Regions from separate parts of the Homo sapiens genome. Here region 2 is linked to region 1. The links are contacts of gene promoters, found by promoter capture Hi-C in human tissues and cell types (Jung and others, 2019). All regions are on one chromosome and are shown on one strand. Each heading gives the region's core, a stretch centred on a gene start or on the middle of the fragment in contact. The rest is flanking DNA. Distances are from core to core; before and after follow the strand shown. Region 1 holds the start of LRRC8A (leucine rich repeat containing 8 VRAC subunit A). Region 2 overlaps SPTAN1 (spectrin alpha, non-erythrocytic 1).

What was found. Contacts are between HindIII fragments. The study calls those that stand out against the background at their distance.
Region 2: a contact is called between a fragment that was not itself captured here and the fragment with the promoter of LRRC8A in region 1, in 2 of the 25 tissues and cell types used here (dorsolateral prefrontal cortex and spleen).

Annotation. Positions count from the first base shown.
Region 1 is chr9:128,880,355-128,886,606 of GRCh38, forward strand. It overlaps LRRC8A (leucine rich repeat containing 8 VRAC subunit A), which reads left to right and starts at 1,779. Exons shown (of 4, transcript NM_019594.4): 1 at 1,779-1,896; 2 at 5,661-5,767. KYAT1-SPOUT1 (KYAT1-SPOUT1 readthrough) reads right to left here and starts at 1,596. Exons shown (of 25, transcript NR_182311.1): 1 at 1,543-1,596. It overlaps KYAT1 (kynurenine aminotransferase 1), which reads right to left and starts at 1,596. Exons shown (of 13, transcript NM_004059.5): 1 at 1,543-1,596. RefSeq lists enhancers at 1,666-1,815, 5,092-5,854 and a silencer at 1,846-2,125. The HindIII fragment of the contact is 17,929 bases long and covers 1-6,252 here.
Region 2 is chr9:128,617,191-128,622,941 of GRCh38, forward strand. SPTAN1 (spectrin alpha, non-erythrocytic 1) reads left to right here. Exons shown (of 57, transcript NM_001130438.3): 42 at 450-570; 43 at 797-918; 44 at 1,681-1,813; 45 at 3,968-4,066. Among named protein-coding and RNA genes, the nearest start is that of DYNC2I2, 37 kb to the right of the region's middle. The HindIII fragment of the contact is 5,892 bases long and covers 482-5,751 here.

The DNA of each region.
Region 1 (6,252 bases), core at 529-3,028:
GCATCTCAGTGGCGAGGGATAAGCTAGATCATGGGCATTAGTGTAAATCTCCCAGGGTTCAAATTCCAGCTTCTCCACTTCCTGGCTATGATTTTTTTTTTTTTTTAGACGGAGTCTTGCTCTGTTGCCCAGGCTGAAGTGCAGTGGCCCAATCTCAGCTCACTGCAAGCTCTGCCTCCCAGGTTCATGCCATTCTCCTGCCTCAGCCTCCCGAGTAGCTGGGACCACAGGCGCTCGCCACCACACCCGGCTAATTTTTTTGTATTTTTAGTAGAGACGGGGTTTCACCGTGTTAGCCAGGATGGTCTCGATCTACTGACCTCGTGATCCGCCCGCCTCAGCCTCCCAAAGTGCTGGGATTACAGGTGTGAACCACCGCGCCCGGCCCTGGCTATGATATTGCTAAGTTTCCTAACCTCTCTAAGGTTCTTTTCTCTTCTATTAAAAGGGAAAAATAAGACCTCCCAACAGAAGTGAAACTAGGCATTGGCTTAACACGTGATGGATGGGAGCCACGACTATCTTCATCATCTTATTTTTAATTATCTATCTGTGCACATGGTAGTAAATTTCTCGCCCTGGCCCAGGTACCCAAGACCCCAATTCTGTCGGAGACAACCGCAATTAACAACTTCTTGTGCATCTTATCAGACAGCTGGCGCGCACACCCGCAGATACGCCCACCCTCAGGCGTCCTTCTACGCAAAGATGGATAGCACCCATCAACGCTGTTTTTTCTTTTTTTAGACGGAGTCTCGCTCTGTCGCCCAGGCTGGAGTGCAGCGGCGCGATCTCGGCTCACTGCAAGCTCCACCTCCCGAGTTCATGCCATTCTCCTGCCTCAGCCTCCAGAGTAGCTGGGACTACAGGCGCCCACCACCACGCCCGGCTGATTTTTTTGTATTTTTAGTAGAGATGAGGTTTCACCAAGTTAGCCAGGATGGTCTCGATCTCCTGACCTCGTGATCCGCCCGCCTCGGCCTCCCAAAGTGCTGGGATTACAGACGTGAGCCACCGCAACCGGCCCAACGCTGTTTTTACTGTTGTTTCCTTTTTTAACCTAAGGTATCTTAGAAGTCACCCTACATTAGTGCATATTAAACATTGTTCGTCTTAATGGCTGCACAGTATTCCACTGTATGGATTATTTTTTAATTTGGTTGCCGGTACTGTTATCAGCCAGGGAATTTGCGAGGACCCAGCGGGATTTATGGAGCTGCAGAGTTGGAGTCTGGGGACCCAATTCCAACCCCAGATCTGTCCAGAATTCTGTTGTCTCGGGTATCATCTCCACCGGCGCGGTCGTGGGAGGGGGATTTGGGTGCAGACAGGACCAGCCCCAGTGTCCGAGCGAGAATCAGCGAGCAGCACGCGCAGTTGATTCCCGCGGGCGGCTCAATCATTCTGTGCAGCCACTCCGTTATACTTAGTAGCATCAAACTCATTAAGCACTCTAGCACAACCAAGCTCGGAACCGTTAGCCGACCCTCCCAGCCTCGGCACCTGACCTTGGGGAAGTGGCGCTCCGACACAGCTACTCACCCTCACCTGGGCCGCTTCACCCCTCGTTCCCAAGTACACCCCGTAGGTTGCAGCAGTCCCTGTCCCTTTAAGGGGGCCGAGCCCGGCTCCGCTACTTCCGCCCCGAAGCAGCAGGGCGCTAGCGCGGAGGCGAGAGCGGGAGAAAGCGCCGCTAGAATTCTCCTCATAAAGATGGCGACGCCCTGGCCGCCGCGTTCGCGCCCGGCGGTGACGTCACTTCCGGGGCGGAGGAGGCTGAGTGGTGCAGTGAGGGACAAACAAAAGGAGGCGCCGGAGCAGCGCTGCGGCCGGCGGCGGGACGGAGCGGCCGGGGCCTGGGGCTGCCTGCCGGGCGGCCGGGCGCGGCGAGCCCAGGTGAGTGGACGGGGTGGGGAAAGGGGCGCGAGCTGTCACCTCTCGAAACCCACTTACACACGCCCTCGGCCAGCTGCCCGGCCCGGGGCGCCCGGGGCATCTGGGGCTCTGTCTCCGGGCCGGCCCCCTGGGGACCTCCCGCGGTGTTCGGCCTACCTCTGGGCTCCCCAGTGCCCGGAGTCTCCGGGGCACCACCTTCTCGCCGGCTCCGCGGCGCGCGAGCCCCCTCCCAGGCACCCCTGTGCCTCCTTGTGCTTCAGAAACCAGGAGTTTCCGCCTCGGCTCCCCCATGTCCCCTTGTCATCCCCTGGGTCCCCCCAGATCCTCACCCCTCCACACACACTCTCCCGTTCCTAGAGGTTCCACCTCTGGGCTCTCTCCTTGCCATTTCTTTTTCAAAGATTTCCTTAGCTGTCTTCTCCTGAGTTCCTGGTCCCCTTCTCTTCCCTTGCACCCCTCCTTCCTATCGTTCCGATGGGGGCAGTGCCCTGACTTGGGGGCAGGATCCCCGGCTAGGCTCTTGGGGCCTTTCTGGGATGGGATATTTGGGAAGACCGGTCCGGAATCTAAGAACCCAGACCCTGTCCCAGTCCTGTGCATTCAGGTGGGCCCGAGGGCGAGGCGAGATCCAGTGAGGTCCAGGCCTGGTGCAGCCCTAGGTGAGCTGGATACCCAGCAAACTGAGCTCCCAGGCTGAAGGGGCATAGCTGGGGTCATGGAGTTCATGATGATTCTGCTGCTTTCGCTGACTGCTTCTTCCCCTTGATCTGGACCGGGGTGAACCGAGGTCTGCCGGTTCTCAGCTGTTGCGATTGTTGCCTTTTTTGGGAAGGAGGGATGGGTCGGGGGTTGTCTGGTAGCCGCCTCCTGATGGAGACTTGGCTGGAAGGGTGGGCGGTTCCTGGGTGAGCCACACTTCCACTGACTCCTCTTCCCCTGCCCTACCTCAGGAAGCCTTTTGAGAATGAGGTGTGGAGGGAGAGCACCTGGTAAGAGGAAGGGAACTGGGGGAGCCCGAAGTTCCCAAGGACCTCTTCCACCTCTTCTGTTAGTAGTACTCTTAACCCCTGCCAAACTGTATTCTGCCCTTTGGAGCAGACAACCTGGCAGACAGACAGGCTGTAAGAAGCGGGAGGAGATCGGCTGTTGCTGATACTTCCTGTGGAGGGGATGTGGGAGTGGGAGTTTGTTCAGAGAGACTGGGCAGTGCTGATTGCTCAGTCTCACTGGTGTTGCTTCCATGAAGGTCAAGTCTTCCTCTGGCTCATGAAGTGAGGCAAGGACAGATGACCTGTGCTGGAGGAGGCTGTTGTGGACATGCCAGGGATGAGTGACTGGGTGGCTGGTCTCTGCTTCCTTGTTTTCCTGGTCTCAGGGCTTTGGCATGGGGTCTGATGCCCTCTGCGTTCTAGGGACCATAGGGTACAGAGCAGGGGGTGCAGGGCCGGGCGTGGTGGCTCACGCCTGTAATCCCAGCACGTTGGGAGGCTGAAGCGGGCAGATCACGAGGTCAGGAGTTCGAGACCAGCCTGGCCAACATAGTGAAACCTTGTCTCTACTAAAAATACAAAAAATTAGCCAGGCATGGGGCTGCGCACCCGTAATCCCAGCTATTCGGGAGGCTGAGGCAGGAGAATTGCTTGAACCCAGCAGGCAGAGGTTGCAGTGAGCCAAGATCGCGCCATTGCACTCCAGCTTGGGCAAGAAGAGCAAAATTCCATCTCAAAAAAACAAAAAAAAAAACAGAGCGGGGGCACAGGAAATGTTCATGACTTCCCCCCAGAACTTGACTAGATGTGGTGGTTCTCCATCCCTTAGGCACACCCACCAGGAAGCCGTTTCCTTTGCAAACTCTTGAATGACCTTTCTGGACTGTAGGGAATCCTGGGGATCACTGCCGTGGGTCAGAACTCAGGGAAGTGGCCGGACCCTGGGTTGCTGCCTGGCTTGGCCTGGACCTTGCCTGTAGGAGTTGGAGGGAAATCAGCCTGGTTCCTGACTGCCTCGTCTTAGAGTAGAGCTGATTCCAGGTTTTCACATGGAGAAACTGAGGCACACACTGATGGGCCAAGACCTCTTGGAGATTCAGGTGGGATGGATGTGGGGCTCTTAGAGCCCAGCACAGTGTCTCTCCATGCCTTGACTCATTCATTCATTCATTCATTCATTCAGCCATTCTTTAGAAAGTGCCTGTCTTGGGCCTGGGATGGCTGGGAAAACATCCCTGGCCTCCTGAGAGCTGCAGTCTGGGAGGACAGGCAAACCAGAAGACACATAAGTTCTGATATACTGTGGCCACCATATTAATAGAAATATTACAGAGGCAGCCCAGAGGAAGAAGGAATTAGCTCTGGGTGGTTATGTAGGGGGTGGTCAGGGTATGCTTTCTGGAAGAGGAGGGACTAGAATAATTAGTGACAGGGAGTCCAGGGGCCCAAGTTCTGGACCTGGCTCTGCCATGGGCAGGTGATTGGACCACCCAGCCTCAGTGGGTGCCCCATCCTTGACAAGGAGGGTAGAGTGAGGTAGAGGTTGGCTTGGATGGCCTCCGTGCCTATATAGCTGTAGGTACTTTACTGCCTAGTCACCACCACCCCGTATGGAATTGCAGGGTTATTGACCTACCTCCCATGACGGCGGAGACCATCTTCCATGTCTGCCCTCCCAGCACAGGGCCTGGAACTTAGTCAATATAGTAAATACCCAGTGGTAGAAATGATGGAAAAACAGCCATCCCTCCTAGATCAGTCCAGGTGTCTTTGTCTACCCCCGCCCTCCTCCTTCCTGGGTAACTCCTGCTGATCCTTTGGCTCTCTCTGGTGGCTGGGCCACTCTCCCAGCTCCTGGCTCCCCGAAACCCGTGTCGTAGTGATCACAGCTTTCCCTACCCTGCCACTCCCATGCACAGTTCTGCACAGTGTCTGGCGCATATGGAGTAGATGCTCACCAGAGGCTGGTTGACTGTCGGAGATGATGGGTGGATTTGGTGTTTAAGTTGGAGTCTGGGCACTGGCTGGTCTCTGCCTGACCCAGCCACCCCACTGTGGCTCATCTCTTGCCACTTCCCCTCTCTGGCTCTGGATCTCGCCATGCCGAGCCCGCAAGCCTTCTCCAGATGCCATGTACTCTCTCCTCCAGGTAAACATGTGCTGTTCCTCCTGCCTGGAATGCTCTTTTTCCAGCTCCTACTCTTAGGAGTCAACTCAGACAACTCCTCCTCCAGAAAGCCTTCCCTGACCCCACTAGTCTGGGTCTAGTGCTTCTCCTGGCTCCCCCGCAGCAGAGCTCTGAGCTCTCAGACCGTCGCTACTGACTTGGCACCTCCTCAGTAGACCAGGTTCTGGAGGGAGGTGCTCTGTCAGAACCTCTTTTGTCTGCCAGGCGCGGTGGCTCATGCCTGTAATCCCAATACTTTGGGAGGCCGAGGCGGGCAGATCCCTGGAGGTTAGGAGTTTGAGAGCAGCCTGGCTAACATGGGGAAACGCTGTCTCTACTAAAAATACAAAAAATTAGCCAGGCTTGGTGGTGCGCACCTGAAATCCCATCTACTCGAGAGGCTGAGGCAGGAGAATCACTTGAATGCGGGAGGCGGAGGTTGCAGTGAACCGAGATTGCACCACTATACAAAAAAAACCTCTTTTGTCACCCCAGAGCCCAGCCAAGGGCCTGCTACCAAGCAGGCTCTCAGGAAGTGCTGGCGGTGTGGCAGGTAACTGCGACAGTCACACATGTGCCTGCTGACGGCAGCTCTCGCTTCCTTGTAGGGAGGCAGCGTCCATGGAGCAAAAGGAATGCCAGGATCCTGCACAGGCAGACGCGGGCCAGCCTCAGCACCGACAGCCGACGCGCAGATAGCAGAGCCATCCTTGGGGTAAGGACTGGGCCCCTCTCCTTCTCAGCCAGCTCCAGCTCCAGTCAAGTGCCCTTCCCAGCCTGGGGAGCAAAGGGTAGCATCTCCATCCCCACAGTCCTTTGCTTTTCTTGCTGTAGGTCCAGGGTAGAGTGGCAGACAGCAGAATTACTCTCTTCCTCCTTCTCCCGCTGAGTAATGTGTGCTTGCCGCACTCATTGAATGCTGAGTTGTTTCATTGCAAACCTCTGTTTTTTCTCCTTCACCCCAGATCTTATCAGTCTGGGTCTTGCTAATGCAGCCTCATGACCACATTTCCCAAAAAGCGTGGACCACGTTTCCCAAGTGTGTTCCATGAGACACCAGTTTCTTCGGTCACAGTGGTTTGATAATTCCAGGAAACAAAGACTTCTTGTTATCCTTGCTGCAGGACTTATCAGAGTCTTGAATCAGAGCCGTCATCAGGATTGAGCTGATCACGATAAGGGAGCTAGCGACTCGTGTTT
Region 2 (5,751 bases), core at 2,178-4,677, 260 kb before region 1:
ATCATGCCATTGCACTTTAGCCTGGGCAACAGAATGAGACTCTGTCTCAAAAAAAAAAAAAGTGTGTATATATGTATATATATAAATATCTTTGTATATTTACAGACATATATTGATATATTAATACATATTTAGTATACATGATTGATATATATTGATATAATTTGATAGGGCTCCTCAGGGCAGCACTAGTGATGCCTCCCATCCTCCAGTGCATCCCCAACCCTCCAGAATCCGGACACACAGCAGGGCTCATAGATGCATAGATGGACAGAGGTTCTTGGTCCCTACTCATTTGGGAAGTAGAGGCTTTTGTTGTTCAGAAAACTGGCAAGGATTTTCCCAGAAAGATTAGTAGATGTCTGTGAGGTCCACAGTTGACCTGATGTCCCCACTTGAAAGCAGGGAGGTGCAGAGACTGACTGTGCTGTTTCCCATCTCTCATTCAGGGAGAAGAAGCTGCTGGTGGGCTCAGAGGACTACGGCCGGGACCTAACCGGCGTGCAGAACCTGAGGAAGAAGCACAAGCGGCTGGAAGCAGAACTGGCTGCGCATGAGCCGGCTATTCAGGTAAGGAGGCCGCCTTCTGGCCAAGAGGGCAGAGGTGTTTGAGTGGGCCCCAGGGGACAGACAAACCCCTTGCGCTTATTTCACTGAGGTCCCTAAAGTGTTCATGACCCCTCAGTCCAAACCTGGAGAAGTCCCAAACTTGATGTTGAGGCCTTTTCCTGGGAGCTTCGAGACAGAAGCACCAGAAGAGCTACCTGCTGTTAACCTCCTCGTCCTTGCCTGTCAGGGTGTCCTGGACACTGGCAAGAAGCTGTCCGATGACAACACCATCGGGAAAGAGGAGATCCAGCAGCGGCTGGCGCAGTTTGTGGAGCACTGGAAAGAGCTGAAGCAGCTGGCAGCTGCCCGGTGAGTAGTCAGAGGCAGGAGCTCCCGGGAACAAGTGGAAGGCCAGCACCCAAGGGCAGACTCTGAGCTGTGGGGGTCCAGTGGGCCCTCCTACTGTCTCCTGGACCTTTGGCCTCACATGTGCCATAGTCGGTTTGCTCCAGAGCCACCTCCTACAGGCCATGCTGAGGTGGTCTCATTCTGTTCATCTGGACCCACTGTATGAGTCCAGAATCATACATGTTTCTGTATGAGTCCAGAATCACACATGAATCACACATGAATCACACATGATTCTCCAGAAATCAAGACATGAGAGTCTGGAATCACAGAGTGGGTGATTCATGATGTTCCATGGACGGCCTGACTGACTGTGAGGGCTCACCTTTTTTGTGAATGTTTTTGTTTTTGTTTTTGAGACGGGGTCTTGCTGTCACCCAGGCTGGAGTGCAGTGGCACAATCTCGGCTCACTGCAAGCTCTGCCTCCCAGGTTCACGCCATTCTCCTGCCTCAGCCTCCCGAGTAGCTGGGACTACAGGCACCCGCCACCAAGCCCAGCTAATTTTTTGTATTTTTAGTAGAGACGGGGTTTCACCGTCTTAGCCAGGATGGTCTCGATCTCCTGATCTCGTGATCTGCCCGCCTCGGCCTCCCAAAGTGCTGGGATTGCAGGCATGAGCCACCATGCCCAGCTTTTGTGACTGTTTTTAAGCATATGTTAACTATCACAATCAAAGCTGGAGGAGATTATGGCTGATTTTCTTCCTGTCTCCTGTAATTAGGGGTCAGCGGCTGGAAGAGTCCTTGGAATATCAGCAGTTTGTAGCCAATGTGGAAGAGGAAGAAGCCTGGATCAATGAGAAAATGACCCTGGTGGCCAGCGAAGATTATGGCGACACTCTTGCCGCCATCCAGGTGAGACAGAAACCAAAGGTGTCACCTGCTTTCTCTCTTGGCAACTGCCTGCTGGTCATCATTTCCCTGTTGGTTTGTTAGAGGGCCCTGCTCTTACTAGGAGAGCACACAGGGCCAGCAGCCAAGGCCTCAGTAGTTGGTTTTAGCCCTCAAGATCTCACACTAGGGGACATCACCCTTCAGTAAACAAAATTGGTATGGCTTTGTCAGTCTCAGTTCACGGGCCCTGTCATTCACCAGGCAGCGCTGTGGGCTTGAGTCTTCATATCAGTTTCCTGGGGCTGCCATAAATAAGTACCACAAACGGAGTGGCACGAACGGAGTACCACAGACAGAGTGGCACAGATGGAGTGGCTGAGGACAACAGAGATTTATTGCTTCTCAGTTCTGGAGGCCAGAAGTCTGAAATCAAGAAGCAGGCAGGACCATGTTCTGCAAACCTGTAGGGGAGGATCTTTCCTTGCCTCTTCCAGTTTTTGCTGGCACCAGGCGCCCTTGGCATGTGGCAGCATCACTCCAGTCTCTGCCTGTCTTCACGTAGCCATCTTCCCTCTGAGTCTGTCTTCACTTGGCATCACTCTGTGTGTCTATTCACATTTCTGTGTTCTGTTGTAGGGACATCAGGTCTATTGGATTAGGGTCCACGCTAATGACCTCATCTTACCTTTGCAGAGGACATTTGCAAAGATCTTGTTTCCACATTCATGGGTACCAGAAGTTAGGACTTCACCATCTCTTGAGGGGGACACAGTTCAGCCCATCACATACTCCCTAAATTGGTTAACTGTTGCTACATAACAACCCGCCTAAATGTAGTGGTTGAAAGCAGCACCCATTTCTTACTTCCAATGGATCTGTGGATCAGCGGCATCTGCAGCTGTCACTGGAGGTCCTTCACGCTCCTGCATTCAGGCAGAGCGTGGCTGGGCTGAGAGATCCATCACACACTGGCAGCTGAGCCTGATTGTCATCCAGCCTGGACATCTCTGTTCCCCTCCACATGGCCTGTTGTCCTCAAGCTGGCTAGACCAACCTCCTTCAGCAGCATTCAGACAGGCAAAGGCAGGAGCTGCAAGATGTCTGCGGCCTCACACATCATCCTCACTGCCTTCTGGCCAAAGCAAGTCCCAAGGCAGCCCAGAGGCATAGGTGGATAGATTCCCCTCTGGAAAGGAGATGCTGCAAAGTATCATGGTCAGATATGACTAAATTCCTGCCCCCAGATGTGGAAGCAGGAGTGTGCACTCCCAGGAATCGAGTTAGCTTTGAGCCACCTTCCTCACCATGGGAAGCATCCTCCCGCTGGTCAGGGTGATTCAGGTAGAATTTAGATGGTCAGTCATTTCCCATCCTCTGCATAGTTGAGTTCCCTGGAAGCAACCAAAAAGGCATGGTCTGCAGTGCTTAAATTGTACTAAGGAAAAGACCTGGGGCCAGGTGCGGTGGCTCACACCTGTAATCCCAGCACTTTGGGAGGCCAAGGTGGGCAGATCACCTGAGGTCAGGAGTCCGAGACCAACCTGGCCAACATGGTGAAACCCCGTCTGTACTAAAAACTACAAAAATTAGCTGGGTGTGGTGGTGCACACCTGTAATCCCAGCTACTTGGGAGGCTGAGGCAGGAGAATCGCTTGAACCTGGGAGGCAGAGGTTGCAGTGAGCCAAGATCACGCTGCTGCACTCCAGCCTGGGCAATAGAGCAAGAACTCCGTCTCAAAAAGAAAAAAAAAAGACATGACTTGGAAGGCCTTTTCTGAGATGTGTTCAAGTTAAACCTTAAAAATGTGTCGTTTTTGTTTGGGTGTATATCTTCAGCTTGCTTTGTGTCATTCTTGTGGTCCTCTTGGGGGAGAGACCATAAGTCACTGTTGATGGATGACAAAGGGTTTGACCCTTCCCAAAGGTCCAAAGACTGTCCCTGCTGAAGCCTGTCCCACCACTGCTGGTTACTCTCACTGCCTCACTGCCTCCTGTTTTCCTTCCTTTTATGATTCTCTATTTATTAATGTTCCTCTTTATTATCCTCTTCCCCAGCTAGACTGTAATGTGTGCATGGACAGGGACCATAGCAGTTTTGTCACTCTCTGTCCCCGGGGCCTAGCCCACAACACATAGCAGGCTCTCAATAGTGTGCCTTGGCTGCTTCTACTCCAGGGCTTACTGAAGAAACATGAAGCTTTTGAGACAGACTTCACCGTCCACAAGGATCGCGTGAATGATGTCTGCACCAATGGACAAGACCTCATTAAGAAGGTGAGTCCAGCCCATTGGTAAGACCTCCATCGCCCACTGGGACACCCACGTGTTGGTACCACAGAGGTCCCCCAAAGTTCACTTCCTGGGATGTTCACCAAACCAAGGTCTGCGTGGAGACCAGCAGCAATTCCATTCCTGTGTTTCGTGACAAGTTGGATATTTCCCCCTTTTTGAAGCCAGTAAAGTTATTCTGCAGTGCTTATTTTTTCTGCATTAAGCAACAGAGACACTGGCACTCCCAAATGCTGCTCTTAGTTTATTTCTCAAGCAATACAGTCTCTTTATAGGGACAGTAGAAAATGCAAATAAGCAAAACATAAAATAAAAATTACCCATAAAGCCCCACCCTGACACCACACATTAGATCTTTGTGTCTGACCTGCCAGACCTTTCTTTTCTCTCCACAGGTTTAGAGCTACCAGCTAGATCAAACAGCCGCAGACTCCCGTTTAATAGGATCATATCACTCCATAAATTATCAAAAACCTCGAGGCTGTACAGGGCATTTTAGAAATGAATCTACTTCATTCGCAGCCCTTTTGGGAGAAAAAATAAAGGGGCTTGGTGCTTTCTCAGCAGCAGCGAAGCCACATCCCTCCCACACAGAAGCTCTAGACTGAAGGCAGTGTGTCCGTGGGTCGGGAATTCACCAGCAATCACTCAGGTGCAGTGACGCACCTGGAGTGCCTCAGGACAGAGGTTTTAACAGCTATGGTTTCCTGTCACACACACATCATGAGTAAGATTTCTCATCACAGAGGTTGCACTCAGCAGTCATGGCCTTCAGACTAGGGTTTGATCCATAGGCAGCAACAATGTAGCTAAAATCCACTTCACTGGAGAGCTTTTCTTCCTTGCTCTGATCTGCAAATAAACTTGCGTGAAACTAATTTCAGCTACAGCCATGTATAGATGTAGACGTGGCTCCTGCACACTTAACCCCCTGACACACACCCAGACAACATTCTCTGTTCTTCAAGCCAGGAGATCACCAGTGTGAGTGTCCTTCAGCCTCCTGGCAACGAGCCAGCTGCTTTTTTTTTTTTTTTTTTTTTTTGCGACGGAGTTTCGCTCTTGTTGCCCAGGCTGGAGTGCAGGGGTGTGATCTGGGCTCACCGCAACCTCCACCTCCCAGGTTGAAACGATGCTTCTGCCTCAGCCTCCCTAGTAGCTGGGATTACAGGCATGTGCCACTATGCCCGGCTAATTTTGTATTGTTAGTAGAGATGGGGTTTCTCCATGTTGGTCAGGCTGGTCTCGAACTCCTGACCTCAGGTGATCCGCCCTCCTCGGCCTCCCAAAGTGCTGGGATTACAGGCATGAGCCACCACCCCCGGCCAGCGAGCCGGCTGCTTTGTCCTCAGCGACAGCCTGTTTCCTCTTTGAATTTATCTTTCAATTCTTTTTTCTTTTTATTTTCCCCCTTTCCACAGGTGTTAAAGAATTTCTCTTTAAATTCAATGTGACTTGTAGTATGGTTTATTTATTTATTTATTTATTTATTTATTTTTTAGACGGAGTCTCACTCTGTGGCCCAGGCTGGAGTGCACTGGCGCAATCTCACCTCACTGCCACCGCCACCTCCTGGGTTCAAGTGACTCTCCTGCCTCAGCCTCCTGAGTAGCTGGGGTTACAGGCGCCTGCCACCACGCCCAGCTAATTTTTGTATTTTTATTAGAGAT